Regions from separate parts of the Homo sapiens genome. Here all the other regions are linked to region 2. The links are contacts of gene promoters, found by promoter capture Hi-C in blood cells and fetal thymus (Javierre and others, 2016). All regions are on one chromosome and are shown on one strand. The core of a region is centred on a gene start or on the middle of the fragment in contact, and the rest is flanking DNA. Distances in the headings are between cores, read along the strand shown.

The links. The method cuts DNA at HindIII sites, captures the fragments that hold promoters and counts their contacts. A CHiCAGO score of 5 or more calls a contact.
Region 1: a contact is called between a fragment that was not itself captured here and the fragment with the promoter of NRIP1 in region 2, in 5 of 17 cell types (naive CD8 T cells, naive CD4 T cells, total CD4 T cells and 2 more). The highest score is 7.1, in naive CD8 T cells.
Region 3: a contact is called between a fragment that was not itself captured here and the fragment with the promoter of NRIP1 in region 2, in 1 of 17 cell types (erythroblasts). The highest score is 6.7, in erythroblasts.
Region 4: a contact is called between a fragment that was not itself captured here and the fragment with the promoter of NRIP1 in region 2, in 1 of 17 cell types (erythroblasts). The highest score is 5.3, in erythroblasts.
Region 5: a fragment that was not itself captured here is called in contact with the fragment with the promoter of NRIP1 in region 2 in 1 of 17 cell types (fetal thymus); the score reaches 5.1 in fetal thymus.

The regions. Positions count from the first base shown.
Region 1 is chr21:15,586,341-15,589,111 of GRCh38, forward strand. All of the region lies in intron 1 of LOC105369302 (a long non-coding RNA gene), which reads right to left. Among named protein-coding and RNA genes, the nearest start is that of USP25, 140 kb to the right of the region's middle. The HindIII fragment of the contact is 2,851 bases long and covers 1-2,689 here.
Region 2 is chr21:15,063,683-15,066,451 of GRCh38, forward strand. NRIP1 (nuclear receptor interacting protein 1) reads right to left here and starts at 1,318. Exons shown (of 4, transcript NM_003489.4): 1 at 1,063-1,318. RefSeq lists silencers at 550-1,409, 1,660-1,839 and an enhancer at 2,170-2,219. The HindIII fragment of the contact is 10,218 bases long and covers 1-2,769 here.
Region 3 is chr21:14,456,881-14,459,648 of GRCh38, forward strand. No RefSeq gene overlaps it. Among named protein-coding and RNA genes, the nearest start is that of HSPA13, 75 kb to the left of the region's middle. The HindIII fragment of the contact is 1,227 bases long and covers 648-1,874 here.
Region 4 is chr21:14,518,305-14,521,004 of GRCh38, forward strand. The region is part of intron 2 of SAMSN1 (SAM domain, SH3 domain and nuclear localization signals 1); the gene reads right to left. All of the region lies in intron 1 of LOC124905053 (a long non-coding RNA gene), which reads left to right. Among named protein-coding and RNA genes, the nearest start is that of SAMSN1, 27 kb to the right of the region's middle. The HindIII fragment of the contact is 1,209 bases long and covers 660-1,868 here.
Region 5 is chr21:14,536,451-14,539,150 of GRCh38, forward strand. The region is part of intron 1 of SAMSN1 (SAM domain, SH3 domain and nuclear localization signals 1); the gene reads right to left. LOC124905053 (a long non-coding RNA gene) reads left to right here. Exons shown (of 3, transcript XR_007067925.1): 2 at 1,396-1,470; 3 at 1,966-2,078. Among named protein-coding and RNA genes, the nearest start is that of SAMSN1, 8.5 kb to the right of the region's middle. The HindIII fragment of the contact is 2,777 bases long and covers 1-2,700 here.

The DNA.
Region 1 (2,771 bases), core at 14-2,513, 520 kb after region 2:
TCTTGACTAACAACTCAGTTCTATAAATTGTTTCAGTAGTTCAATAAACAAGTGCTAAATTGTGAGCTCCCTAAGGATAATGACTGTGTCTTATTCAGTAATGTTTACCAGGAGCCTCACTAATACCAGGAAGGCAAGTTTGCCTACATTTACTCGAGAATATATTGTTGTTAATTCTCTAAAGACCAGTGGAGTACATGTTCTCTCAATGTCTATCCACATGGCAAAACTGTGTGAAGAATAACAACCAGACAGACCTCAAATTTGCTCATTTGATGATTTATCTTGTTTGATGAAAGGCACGATAGCCTAAGAAAACTCTCTTTTCTCAGATACTATTTGCCTCAGATCAATAGTATGCAGAAAATACCATCACAGGACAAAAGAAAATTGTCTTGACTGCAACTAGAGCACAAAGGGGAAAAAGATGTAACAATCTAAATTTCAAGAAAGAAGTCTCAGTTAAAAGCATTGCTCTCAGAAGTCTTTTCTGGTGCCTCTGCAGATGATCCTATTAGATGCTAGCAATTGCTAAGATTGAAATACTCCAAGGTGAGAGAGAATGCTTCGGAAACACAGACTAGATGGCCTATGATTCGTTAACTTTATTAAACAGCACTGTATTTCCTGAACAAACAAAAGAGTACACTGGTATGTTCCTGAACTTTTAAAGTTTTGCATTTGATGGAGTTCAGGACACACTAACCCAGGATGTGGCATCTTGACATTTGAGAAAATAGTAGAAACATGAAGGTCACTCTCACCTTCCCCTTGCCCCTTCTCCTCTGAAGCAGGCCATAAAATGTAGAAATAATTCTCTGACCTTCTCTCCTGTAGCAGAGAATAAAATCAGCTGACTTTCCCGTGAAGCAGATCATAAAATCCTGTTTCCTGAGGTGCCCTCCTTGTACCTGGAGGGAAAGAATGTTCTTATCTCTGAAGTCAGAGGGACACAGAGAAGAATCTGAGCAAACAGGCCTTGCTAAGATGGGGTTTGTTACCATTAGATCATACCTTGTTAGTCCAATTACACTTCTGCACAACTCTCCACTCTTCCTCCTACCTAAGCATAAAAATATACGAGTTTCCCTGTTTCTTGGGGTCTTCATTTCTTATTTTACTTTGTTTGTTTCTTTCTTTTTTTTTTTTTCTTTTTTCAAGTAGGAGTCTTGCTCTGTCACCCAGGCTGGAGTGCAATGACACGATCTCAGCTCACTGCAAGCTCCGCCTCCTGGGTTCAAGAGATTCACCTGTCTCAACCTCCTGAGCAGCTAGGATTACAGGCATGCACCACCACTCCCAGCTAATTTTTGTATTTTTATTAGAGACAGGGTTTCACCATGTTGGCCAAGATGGTCTCGAACTTCTGACCTCAAGTGATCAACCTGCCTCTGCCTCCCAAAGTGCTGGGATTACAGACGTGAGCCACTGTATCCGGTGGGTCTTCATTTCTGAAGGCTCCCATGTCAGGCAAAACTTATATTAAATAGATTTGTTTTTCTCTTGTTAATCTATCTTTTGTTACAGGTGCCTTAGCTGGGAACATTGAAACAGGTAAGGAAAAGATTAACACTTTTTCTCCTTTGCACATTTAACTTAATTAGAGTACACCAGACTCCAAGTCTCTCTTACTTCTTGCTTTCTTACCCCATGCCTAGCTTTAATTCAAATTTGGTTTAAATGGTTAATTGCCTTAGAAGCCTGGTAAAGTAGTTTTTATGTTAACTAAACATCAAATGTGAGTAAATCACTCTGCTAGATGCTTTACATAGTCTACCCAATTTTCCCTTAAACAACTTCCCAAGGCTTATGTTTTTTTTCCTATTTATTCTTAGGAAAACTAAGAGTCAAGTGATCAAGTAACCATCAAGGAAACATTCATAATCTTTCCATTGGACCAGGTCTATCTCCATGTTTATTCAACACACAGTGGCGTCAAATGGTATCCTCTTTATAAAACTTGCTCAAATTAGGGATTCTTCCCCCTCCTTCCCCATCTCCACCTGGAACTCCAAGGTATGAGAGCAATCTGGCTCATCCCTTCAATCTCCCAGGTGAACCAGCATCCAAAGAATTCCTAGCAAGAACAACTTGGCATAGTGAAAAACAACGTGCCAGTTGAGGAATTAGATGTTCTGGGCTCCATTCACCTGACCAGCTGTGTTACCTCTGCCTGATGATTTAACTGCTCTTAGCCTTATGTTCCTTATCTTTCACTGAGGTTAACCATCTAGTTACATAGAATATTTTAGTTTGAGTTATAATGGAATCTCTAAGAGAATAGGTATATGTTGTAAGTATTCTTTAAATTAACATTTAATCCATAAACTGCAAATTAGGGACATTGCCCACACTTTTTAATTTTATTTTATTTTATTATTTTTGAGATAGGGTCTCACACTGTCACTCAGGCTGAGTTGCCATGACACAATCATGGCTCACTGCCGCTGTGACCTCCTGGGCTCAAGCAATCCTCTCACTTCTCAGCCTCCTCAATAGCTGGGGCTATGGGTGCCTGCCACCATGCCTGGCTGATTTCTGTATTTTTAGTAGAGATTTGGTCTCACAATGTGGCCTAGGCTGGTCTCGAACTCCTGGGCTCAAGTGATCTGCCTGCCTCAGCCTCCCAAGGTGCTGGGATAGCAGGCATGAGTCACTGTTCCCAGCTGCTCACAACTTTAAAAAAGAAAGCTTAGTGTCTCAACTACATTCTAATGTCATATGGATTATGTTCCAACAAATTCTTTTTCTCAAAGAAAACAATTATTTAA
Region 2 (2,769 bases), core at 68-2,567:
ACAATACCAGAAACAAACTCCAACTCAGTTCCACCAACTGGGTTTTTAAAAATCCTTGTGCCTAAGAACGTCTTTTTTCCCCAAAGTAAAATGTGCCATTAAAAAATATTTTTAAAACGCAAAAGTGCTTATCATTCCGTACTTCTTTTACTACCTTCAGCAGCCAATTATTGACGTGATAAAAGGTAGAAACTCCTGGAATGCTTCAGAGATCAACATGTGTCACAGACTCCCAGCCTGTCCGCCTCTAAGACACAGTTGGTTCCTTTGTTCCTTCTGACTGAACACCAACTCCTGATCAAAATTGGGAAACTACTTTGGAAGGGATGGGAGGGTCTGCAGAATACATCCACGGAAACCTTCATAAAACAATATTCAATCGTAATAAGGTGGACACAGAAGAAGGGAGAAAAGGCAGCCTCCCGGACTTCCACCGGGCTCACCCTAAATGGGGGCCGGCCCCTGGCTCCTGGTAAAATGATGGCTGAGGCCTCGGGTCCGTGAGCCTCGCCATCGGGAGGGGACCGCGAGTGCGGGCAGAGCGGCCCGGGGTCGGGTGGGGGCCGGGCGAGCTGTCCCTTTTCCTATTCACTTTCCCAGCCGGGTATCCAGCGAGCAAGGAGCAGGGAGGCACCCAGGCGAAAGGCGCCGCCCAGGATCCGGCTGGACAGCAGGACGGAGAGCGGCGAGGCGAGCGGTGCCCGGGGTTCGGGACCGAGAGGGCAAGCGAGCGGGGGCAACCCCGACCCGGCCCCCCGAGTCCGGCCCCGCTCAGGGGCCACGCGACGGCCGCCCCCTTGCCCAGAACTGGCACGGACGGGCGGGCCGACCCGGGGCCACTCCACAACTTGCCGGCCCGCCGCCCCGGCCCCCCGCGAGAACCCGGAGACTCGAACCAGGCAGCAGAGGCAGGATTTCCCCGGAAACGCGCCCTCCCCGCCGCCCCGACGCCCCCGCGGCCCTGCCAGCCAAGCGAGAGCCGACGCGGGCCGCGCTCCCGGGCCGTTTCCGGCGGCGCCGGCGGCCGCTACTCCTGGCGCCCTGGCCGCGGCCGTCACTCACCCCAGGCCGCCGCGGCTCCCAGCCTCCGGCTCCGTCAGGCTCGGTCCGCGAAGGCGCCTGCCGCCCCGTCCTGGCCCGGCGCCCCGGCGAGCTCTTCCCTCCGACCAGCGGCGCTCACGGCGCAGCGGCGGACGCGAGGCCACGGGCGGACGGGCGCGCGCGGGTGGCGGGCGGGCGTGGGGCCGGGTCGTCCCTGCGCCTCGCCGCCGCCTCCTCCGCCGCCGCCTCCCGAGTTCGGGGCTCTGCTGCAATGTCTGCGAGGCTGACTTTGAGCGCCTCGCTCACCGCCCGCCCGCAGCCGCGCTCCTCCCTCCGCCGCCGAGTCCGCCGCGGCCCAGTCCCTCCCCTCGCCGCCCCACGCCATTCAGCTCTTCAGCCAAGTTTCTTAACCCTTTTCTCCCCCTCCCTCCCATTGTCACCCGGTCAGGAGGAAGCCGCGCGGATCCGGGCGGCTCACAGGAGCTGCGGAACCCCCTCTGTTTCGTGGATTTCCTTCTCGCCTGCTCTCCGGGTGTCCCAGACGGGGCTGCAAGACCCGGAGGCAGCGAGAGGACCGCGTCCCCGAGAGAGGGGCTGCACGGCGCGCCCGGGCCGTCCCCCGGGCTCCCAGCTCTGTCCAGCCGCCCGCGACCGCTGCAGGCGCCTGGACAGCTCCTCCTGGGGACCGGGGAAAGCGCTCTTGGGACCCAGGCCGAATGCTCCCGTTTGGGCACAGCCTGGGGGCCGGGGCGCCCCAGACGCTCCAGGGTCCCCGCCTGCCTTAAGCGTCTACCTCCTCCCCTTCACCCCACAACACGCGCTCTCTGGGCCCCCTTTCACCCACCCACCCCCAATTTCTATCTCCTTGTAATCTGTGTGTCCTGCTTTAATGTTGGGGGGCACGGGCGCGAACTCTGGGTCACTTTGACCCCACGCCCAGCACGTAGTAGGCGCCCAGCACTCGTGTGGAGCGACTCTGGGAGGAAAACTAGGAAGGAGACCTGAGGAGCGCCCCGCTCAGCTCCCTGGACAGACGTAGGACCCAGGAGCAGGGTTAATCCTCGGCTGCTTTGTCACTGCGAAGTCTCCAGCGGAGTCTGTCAGCCAATCTGCATCATCCCCGGGAAGGATCTGACCCAACAAGACAAGGGAAAAGGAGCAGGGCTGCTACTTCTTCAGCAGCTCTCCTCGGTTCGGTCTCCGAATAAGAAATAACAATTACATCACGAGGCCGGGGCGGCAGCGCGGTGGAGCCTCTCGGTTTCCTGCAGCCTAATCTCACTGAACCCGCCTCTAAATTGGGGGGGCCACAGATTGGTGAAACGAGAAAGTGGAAGGAGGAGAGAGTCATACGAAACCATAATTTCCCCTTATCCTTGTATTTGCTGTTTGAAAAATCGTATCCTCAACGCTCCCCAGACATCTCACTAGAACTATTAACACCCCCTCAACACCTCCCCAGATGTCAGGTTTCTTTTTGACTTGAGCATCTAGCATTTAGTAATTCGCCATGAAAAAAATTACCAGGGGAAGCGAGTGTTGTTGCTGAAATTGTTTTTGCTTGACACAAAAAAGCTAAAGTACAGCTTAGTCTCACCCGAAATTCTGAAACGGCATGCCCGTGTTAAAACACTTATTACATAAGACAAATGAGCCGATGAGGCACTCCATTCTTATATGTAGGTTTTCATATCCTGAAGAATTTGATAGCATTTGGAAATGAAGTTG
Region 3 (2,768 bases), core at 11-2,510, 610 kb before region 2:
TCTTCGATAAAAATTCTCTCATGCATGGATGGTATAAATCTGTCTACCAGCATCCCTAGAGCTAGGAGGAAAAAATAGGACTGGGGATTTCAATATAAATGTATAGACTTTTACTTAGTTCCCATGTTTTCAGTACAGAATACTTGGTTCAAAGTTCTGGTATTGGTATCTCTTAATTCTGAATCGCTCTGCACTACATTCCACATTCTAAATCTCTGGTATTCTGCCAGTGTGAAAGTGGCACAGATCTTTGGCTGAGCAGCATAGAAGGGGAAATCTTGAAGTCTTATTGCCTCTCATACAGGCTTTCAATAAGTCCTCTTATTCCTAGTTCACATTCCCTTGTACTTCTACATGTTAATGGTCTCCCCTAGATTCATGAGATTTTTGAGAGTGTATGAAGCAAATTGAATAATTTTTTTTTCAAATCTACTTACTGCTAGCTTAGGATTTAGCTTCCTGGGGTCTCCAAATTATTTCTTACTTATTCTGCCTTCCCAAATGTTGTGATTATTGTTTTTTTCCCTATGCTGTTTTTCTAAGTTGGAAAACCCCTTATATTGACACTTAAAATTGTATTATGAAAATTTTCAAGCATGTACAAAATTTTTAAGCATGTAAAAAGTACAGAGATAATAATAATAATAAGCTTCTATGTACTCACTTAGCTTCAACAAGCACCAATATATTGTCAATGTATTAATCAACCCCTCTTCTCCTCCTATTCCAACTTCCCACTAGAATGTTTTAAAACAAATCCTAGACACACATAATTTAATTTATAGGTAATGCTCACATTAATGTAACAGGTAAAGACTTAAAAAACCTAATTGTAAAACAACATCAGTAATTATTTAAGATAACCTAGTACCAAAATCCATTTCAATTCTCTCTGATAATCAGAAAAAGTTGTCTTCTTACTTTTCTTTCTTTTTTAAAAAAATTAGAATCTTCATACTGTCTGGCTGATCAGCAAGCAAGCATAGTTGACCCAGTCATCAAACATGAGAAATATGACTGCTGTATCTCCACCCATTTCTGTGGAAGGTTGGTGGCATAGGTAGACATGACCACATGCCCACGACCACTTCAGGAGTCTTCGTTTAAGTCTTTTACCCAAGCACATTTGTTGACAGTGTCTTTAGTCATGCTCAGAAGTGTTATGATTTGGACAAGAAATTATGTAGTCACTCTACGCATATGGACAGGTCCTATCACCAATGGAGAAAGCCCATAAGGAATTTTAATACTTTATTTTCTCTACAAGTCTTAGGTCTTGCAAAGGCCCTACTTTTTAAAATGGGCTCACAATATCCATTCCTCTTCTTTTACCCACTTCCCATTTGAAGAGGGGATTGAATAGTCAGGTTACTTTCCTTTATAGTGTGTAGCATGCTCTTGAGGTATTGCTCAATGTCTTCAGTCCAGAACTTCAGTCTGGGCATGGAATTCTCATTCTACAACCCTAAACTTGAAACATTGACCTTGGGTACAAATGTGAGATTCACTAATTTGAGGGTGGAGATGATTCATAGTACAGTTATTATCATTCTTTAATTAATTACCTGAACAGCTCCTTGTGGCCTGTTCCATCTCCCAGACCCTGTGCCTTTTGTTCTTTGTGTGATTTGGTGCTTAAAAAAAAATCATTTATTTTGAGCTCTTCTTTGTTTGTAAAGGACTTATAGTTCTGCAGCTATGTTAGATTTCATTGTCAGTCTGTTCCCACTTGCTTCATATTATCTTCCAGGAATTCTTTGCTTTTCTGGTTTGTGGTGGTGTAACACCTGACTTTCAAGTGCTTTTATGAGTTTACTTTTTATCATTTTACTTACTGTGTCATTAGAAAAGGGATTTGAGGAAGCAGGGAAGGAAGCTTAACTCAAGAGTGTTCGGTAAGCCATCATGAATGAGAACCTCTATGTGTTTTTTCTTATTATTACAGACTTCTTGAAATTTTATTTCAATTTTTCTCCAGTTTTATATATATTATTTATTTTATATTATATATATAAACTTGCAGAGACAATCTTCCAATAGAAAATCTACTGAATATGACAACAGATGTGCATAGTCATATGCGATCTATAACTGCTAAAATCTCTCACCCAAGAAAAAAGAGATGGGCTTATTCTCCACGATTATAAGGAGAAGTTCTACTAGAAAATTAGAATTCTATTCAAGAAAGATAGATAAAACTGATGTGATTCAGAAAAATGCAAATAAAAATGGTAATTAATTGCCACTACACTCTCACCAGAATGGGTAAATGAGAGAGACTGATATCACCAAGTGTTGGCAAGGATGAAGAGTAACCAGAATTTCTTTACCAGATGGTAGGAGTAAAAGCTGGTAAAAACCATTAGGAAAACTGGCATTGTCTACTAAATCTGAGCACACACAAATCCAGAAATTTAACTTCTGAGTTTATATCCTATAGAAATGCATATATAAGTGCACCAAAAAACACTTAAGAGAATGTTCATAGCAGTATTGTTTTTCAGAAGCCTGAAACTGGAAAGAACCAAATGTCCATCAACAGAAAAATGAATAAGCAAATTATAAATACCCATACATTAGCATACACAGCATATTAATACTATATAGCAATAAAAATGACAAACTGCTGCTACATACAACAGAGCTCAATCTCACAAAAGTTATGTTGAACAAAATAACAGACACAAAAGTGTACAAAATTGTATATATTGTATGATACCATTTAGAGAGTCTGAGAGGAATAAAAAGTAATCTATGGCATTAGATAT
Region 4 (2,700 bases), core at 14-2,513, 550 kb before region 2:
CTGCGTCTCCCACTATGATGCATGCTCCATGAGACTTGAGACTTTGTCTGTTTTCTTTGAGTGTCTAGAGTACTTCCAAGCACAGAGCTGGCACTTGATATTATTTGAATAAATGAAACTTCTCATGTAGAACGTTGCAGATTTTTTTTTCTTGGAGGACATGTTTGGGTTACACGTCCTAAAATACCTTATATTTGCAAGAAAGGAAACTTGAAGGACATCTAGTTTAACACTGCCCACCATTACTGGTAGGTGGACAGGTAGTCATTCACTGAATATAAAAAATGATGGGAAACTTCTCTTTAGTGAACTTGAATATTTTAATATAAAAGTTTAACCACATAGTTAACATCATTATTAATCAATATTATATTTTGCTTCATATCTTACCCCAAATTGCCTATGATAAATATGAATGGACAGCCAATTTAAACCCTCATTGCACTTTATTAATTTCTACATTCAAGGTTGAAATCAAGGCAAAGATTCTTTGCTTAATTCAAAAGTCCTGAATAAAATTTAATTCGGAAGCACTTTAAAATTTTAGAGTTAGCCTTTTTCTTCTCTCTACTTAAACTTTCTCTGTCTTCATTATAAAATTACTTTGCTAACATAAATAAGAAATGTTAATTACTACTTGTGTTACTCTACCATTTCTAAGCTTCAGAAAAATGTACCACACATATTTTTCAGGTTTTTCTAGCGTTATTTACAGAAGCTACAAAGAAATTATGTTTATGTCTTTTGAGTGTTAACATTTTTCTATGCCTTTCTCCATAGCCTGAATTAAATTTCTATTTAAATATTACTTATGGTTTTGTTCTTGTCTTTTTAAGATTTGTCTTCCCCTATAGACTCCAGGCATGAAGTAAGGATTTTCATGTGTTGTTGCAACAGTACTTCCTGAGTGTCTAAGGGAAAACCTGTCATAGAGTAGTTATTTTTTGAATGAGTGCTGGATTGTTGAAAAATATGCACACTATTTTATTAGGTTTGCTAAATTCTTTTACAAATTACTAGGCCACCATTATTAACCAATGAACCTGAATGAACATGAGCTATCTTGTACAGGTTAATTCCAGAATTATAAACTAAATAGCAGTAGAATATATGTATGATTGTGGAGAATTAAAAATTTATACAAAATGCCAACTGAAAATAAAATTATATACAGTTTCTCTCTCTCTCCATATATATACACACACACACACAAACACATATATGTGGCCAGGGGGAGATTTATATGTATATATTACATTTATTACTTACAATTATGTAAATGTTGATTGACTATACAATTATGTACAAGTTTACTCATAAATGTGAATATATACATAATAAATTAATAAAAGGGATCATTACTGAAATTAAATTATTTTAAAATATTACAGATAGTTATATTTGAAAATAAGCATAGGATCTAAAAACCTATTGATCTAAAAACCTATTGATCTAAAAAGAATATATTACCTGTAAGGTTGCTGAATCAGGTTCAATGGTAAACAGTATTTTCAGTTTTCTTAGTAGACACCCCTTCTCTGTACTATTTTATTAGTTGTTGTTGTACCTGTCATTAACCACTTAGCATATGTGGCCCCTACTTTATGAGATAATATGGCAAACTTTGGAGTCAGAGAAAAGGTTGATTTCTGCCTTTGTCATTTACTCACTCTGTAATTTAGAAGTAATTTTATTTGATGAAGCAAGCATATTTCTGCAATGGCAAAATAGATATACTAATAGTTCCTATGTTATAAATAGGTAAATTGTTATAGATAGATAAAGTTAGCATTGTGCTTATTTCATCGTGAGTGCTCAACTAAATGAACATATTATTGAAATTATTACGTAAACTTTATTTTATGGGAAGCTTTTCTTAAGCTACGGTTAAAATGTTCATAGTGTACAAATGTGTATGTAGCACTCACCAATGGGATGTTTCAGTGTACATTGAAGTGTGAGAGTCCAATTGAGCAGCTGTATGCTCTCCTTAACAAATTTACAGTTGGGCCACTTAATCTTGTTCTAATTTAAAGCAATTACAACTTACATAACATTTTATATATATCTATCAAATAATGTGTATAAATACAATGTATGTGTATGTGTACATATATGTATACTCACATTGTTTTATAGTAGAAATACTCAGGAAATTTGGAATTGTCAGTGTCAGTTTGAATTCTATCTTTTCGGGTTCATGTTTTGCTTTCCCAAACATCTGTTAGGCTTCTTAAAATAAGATTTTACTTTTAATGCCCTGCACGGTACTGGGTACTGATAGAGACAGGAAACAGCCAACGGTCCCTTGCGAAACCTCCCCTTCGAGCCTAAAACAGCTTGAAGGCTGAAAAACCAGACTGATGATCCTGGATGAAGCCCACCCTTTCCCAACTGATTCTCTCTTAATAATGCCCACCTGTGCACTGGGGGAAGGGGACGGAGCTATGGGAAGGTCGTGTGGTTTGCTGCAGGGAGGAGCCTGGCCTCTTTTGTTGTTATGTGGTAGCCTGGGATTCAATCTGTAAGGTAGGAGCCTGCTAGCAGGACTCTTGCTTTGTTGAGAGTTCCTCTTTTTTTTTTTCCTTTTCACCCGATATACCCTGCCCTACTCACCCTACAATGTGTCTGTGTGCCTAAATTTTCCTGGTCGTGTGACAAGAACCCATTGCTTTCCACAACAGTACTAAATAATGGTTT
Region 5 (2,700 bases), core at 65-2,564, 530 kb before region 2:
CATCTGATCTTTCTGAATATTATCTGAACACTTTTCAAGTATAGCTAATACATTTGGCCCCAAACATTTTGCTACCTGCTTGGGATAAAACTTGATTACAGATTCATATTCTGTAAAACGGAAAAGCTAAAATGTATTAGTGCTTTGTTTGGAGAGAAGTGGTCAAGGCTAAAAATTATTTAAAAGGTGCACTACGAATTAAAATAAAATCCAATGGAAAATTATATGTTTAAGAAAGAAGAAGAAGAAGCCTTTGCAAAGTGAGACATCAATTTAGGGGTGAATTTCTGGTGACTGTAAACAATGGAATGAGGCCATTTCTCCTTGGCATGCAAGCACCAACTGGAAGCAAGAATGGGACCGGACAGTGGAAACTTTCTGTCTGCCATCTTTAGACAGCATGTAGTAAGTTACCTATAAACATCCAAATGGATAAAGTAAGTACAAATATATCCCAAATTTAGAGTCTTCTCAACACCAAAGTCAACTGGGCCGTTCCTTTGTCTGAACCACAGTTATCCCTTGCCTGGTTTCTGCAATAGTCTGTTAACTGGTCTCACTCCCTTCAGTATATTTGAAACACAAAAGCCAAAATAAACCCACTAAACTGTAGGCCAGATTCTGTCACTTCTCAAACATCTTTCAACACTAGCTAAAATTATTTTAATGGCCTAGAACGCCTTCAGTGATCCAGCTCTTTGCGGCGGCTCTTCCCGCTATGCACTCTGCCCCACTGCTTCTCAAACACACCAGAGACAGTCCCATTTCAAGGCCTTTGCACTTGCTCTTCCCTCTGCCCAGAGTACAGTTTCCTTCACCAATCCCAAGACCAGCTCCTTCACTTTCTTCCAGTCCTTTTTCCAATGTCCCATTCTCACCAAGGCTTCTCTAGTTCTTCATATTTCAAATCCTTCTTTTCTGTTAATTTTTTTTTCTTCTTGGCACCTATCATTATCTAGCATACTGTATATATTACTTATTTATCCTATTTATTGTCTGTCATCTCCAGCAAATATGGTATCTTTTGTTCACCTTGGTATCGCCAGTGTATTGTCCATAATAAGCATTTAATAGACATTTGTTGCGTTGAAGGATAAATGAATGAACGAATGCATGGATTAGTGAATTAACTTTTAAGTCTTTTGAAAAGTAGAAAAAAGTGCTGCCAGGTTGGAAAACTTTAAAAATTCTTGATGTCCAGTCACATTTTATATTAGGTAAATAAGAATATTTGGGGATGGAACCCAATCATCAGTTTTTTTTTTAAAGCTCTTTAGTGATTCAAATATTCGGCCTAGGCTCCAAAAACCATCAACCTAGAGCATCATTTCCAAATTATAAAGTGCTCACAGAACTGCTGAGTATCTTGTTAAAATGTATGTTTTCATTTCGTAGGCCTGGGGGAGACTGGAAAATGCACATGGCTAACAAGCTCCTGGAATGCCCGTGCTGTTGCTCTATAGGACCACAGTGAGTAGCAAGTTCTTAGATTCAAGTCAGCCTTGATGAACCTTGAGATACATTTTAACATGTTCTAGACTTCATTTTCTCCTGACTTGTCTTATTTGGTTTTATGTTTGCATTATAGTTTATCAAAAATACTTTTTAAAATGCTATAAATGCTACATAAACACAAAAATGAAGACAACCTTTTGAGATATCTGGTTTTTTGTTTTGTTTTGTTTTTGGAGCGGACGGAGGTAATAACTAGAAGTTAAAATAAATATTTACTTATAGCCACCGTTTTTTAAAGGGGAAAAGAGTAAATCTAACATATTACCTACATTTTATATCATGTATTTTATTCCAGAAAACTCTGTTTGAAAAGGCAAACATTCAACAAAAATTGTACCCCAGATGAAGAAGTAATAGAGAGTAGGAGGAGAGAGACACAGGCTTAGAAGCAGAAAAACTGTGCCATAAATCCCAAATCTTTTAACTTGTGGAAAATTTTTGCATCTACAGGGCTTTTTTCTTCTTTGTAAATTGGAGATAAAAATAATGTCTACCTCCTGGGGTTTTGAGAAGATTAAACATAATAATGGACATGAGCACCTTGGACAAGTACCTGGCCTCAAGTAAGCACCAGTGCATATAAATACTTATTCTCTTTCTTATACCTGGTTAGATAAGAGTTAAAAATGTATCCTAGCAGTCTTGATACAAAAAAACAGTGAAGAAAGCTCTTTAATGGTACAACTATGTGTCATCCTTGTCTAGGAGCATAAATTTGCACAGCAGGCAGTGCAGTGAAAACAGCTCATAATCAACTCATCACCTCTCATCATTGCTAGGATCAAATGCAAATGGGAAAGAATGCCACTTCAGTCATTGCTAGTGAAAATTAGCATCTGTGACACTAATGGTGTCTCATTTAGTATGCACTTTAGATTAAAAAGAATGGTTAAAAAAAAGGCTATTTCCAGAACTGTCATTATTCTAACGTTTCCCTCAAAAATAACAATGGTACTTGAATCTCCTTTACTCAAAGAAAAACCTGCTAAAATTTATTAACACGGATCATTAATCCCTCTCAAGTAAAGGCCAAGATGTTCTAATTACAGTCACTAACTTTAATTTGTGGGATCCATGTCTTTCTATTTTCAAAATTTCTTCCATATTCTTTAACCTGGACCAAGTTCTACCTTTAGGTAACAATGGGATTCTTTCATAACATTGGGTATATTAGAGTTCTTAACA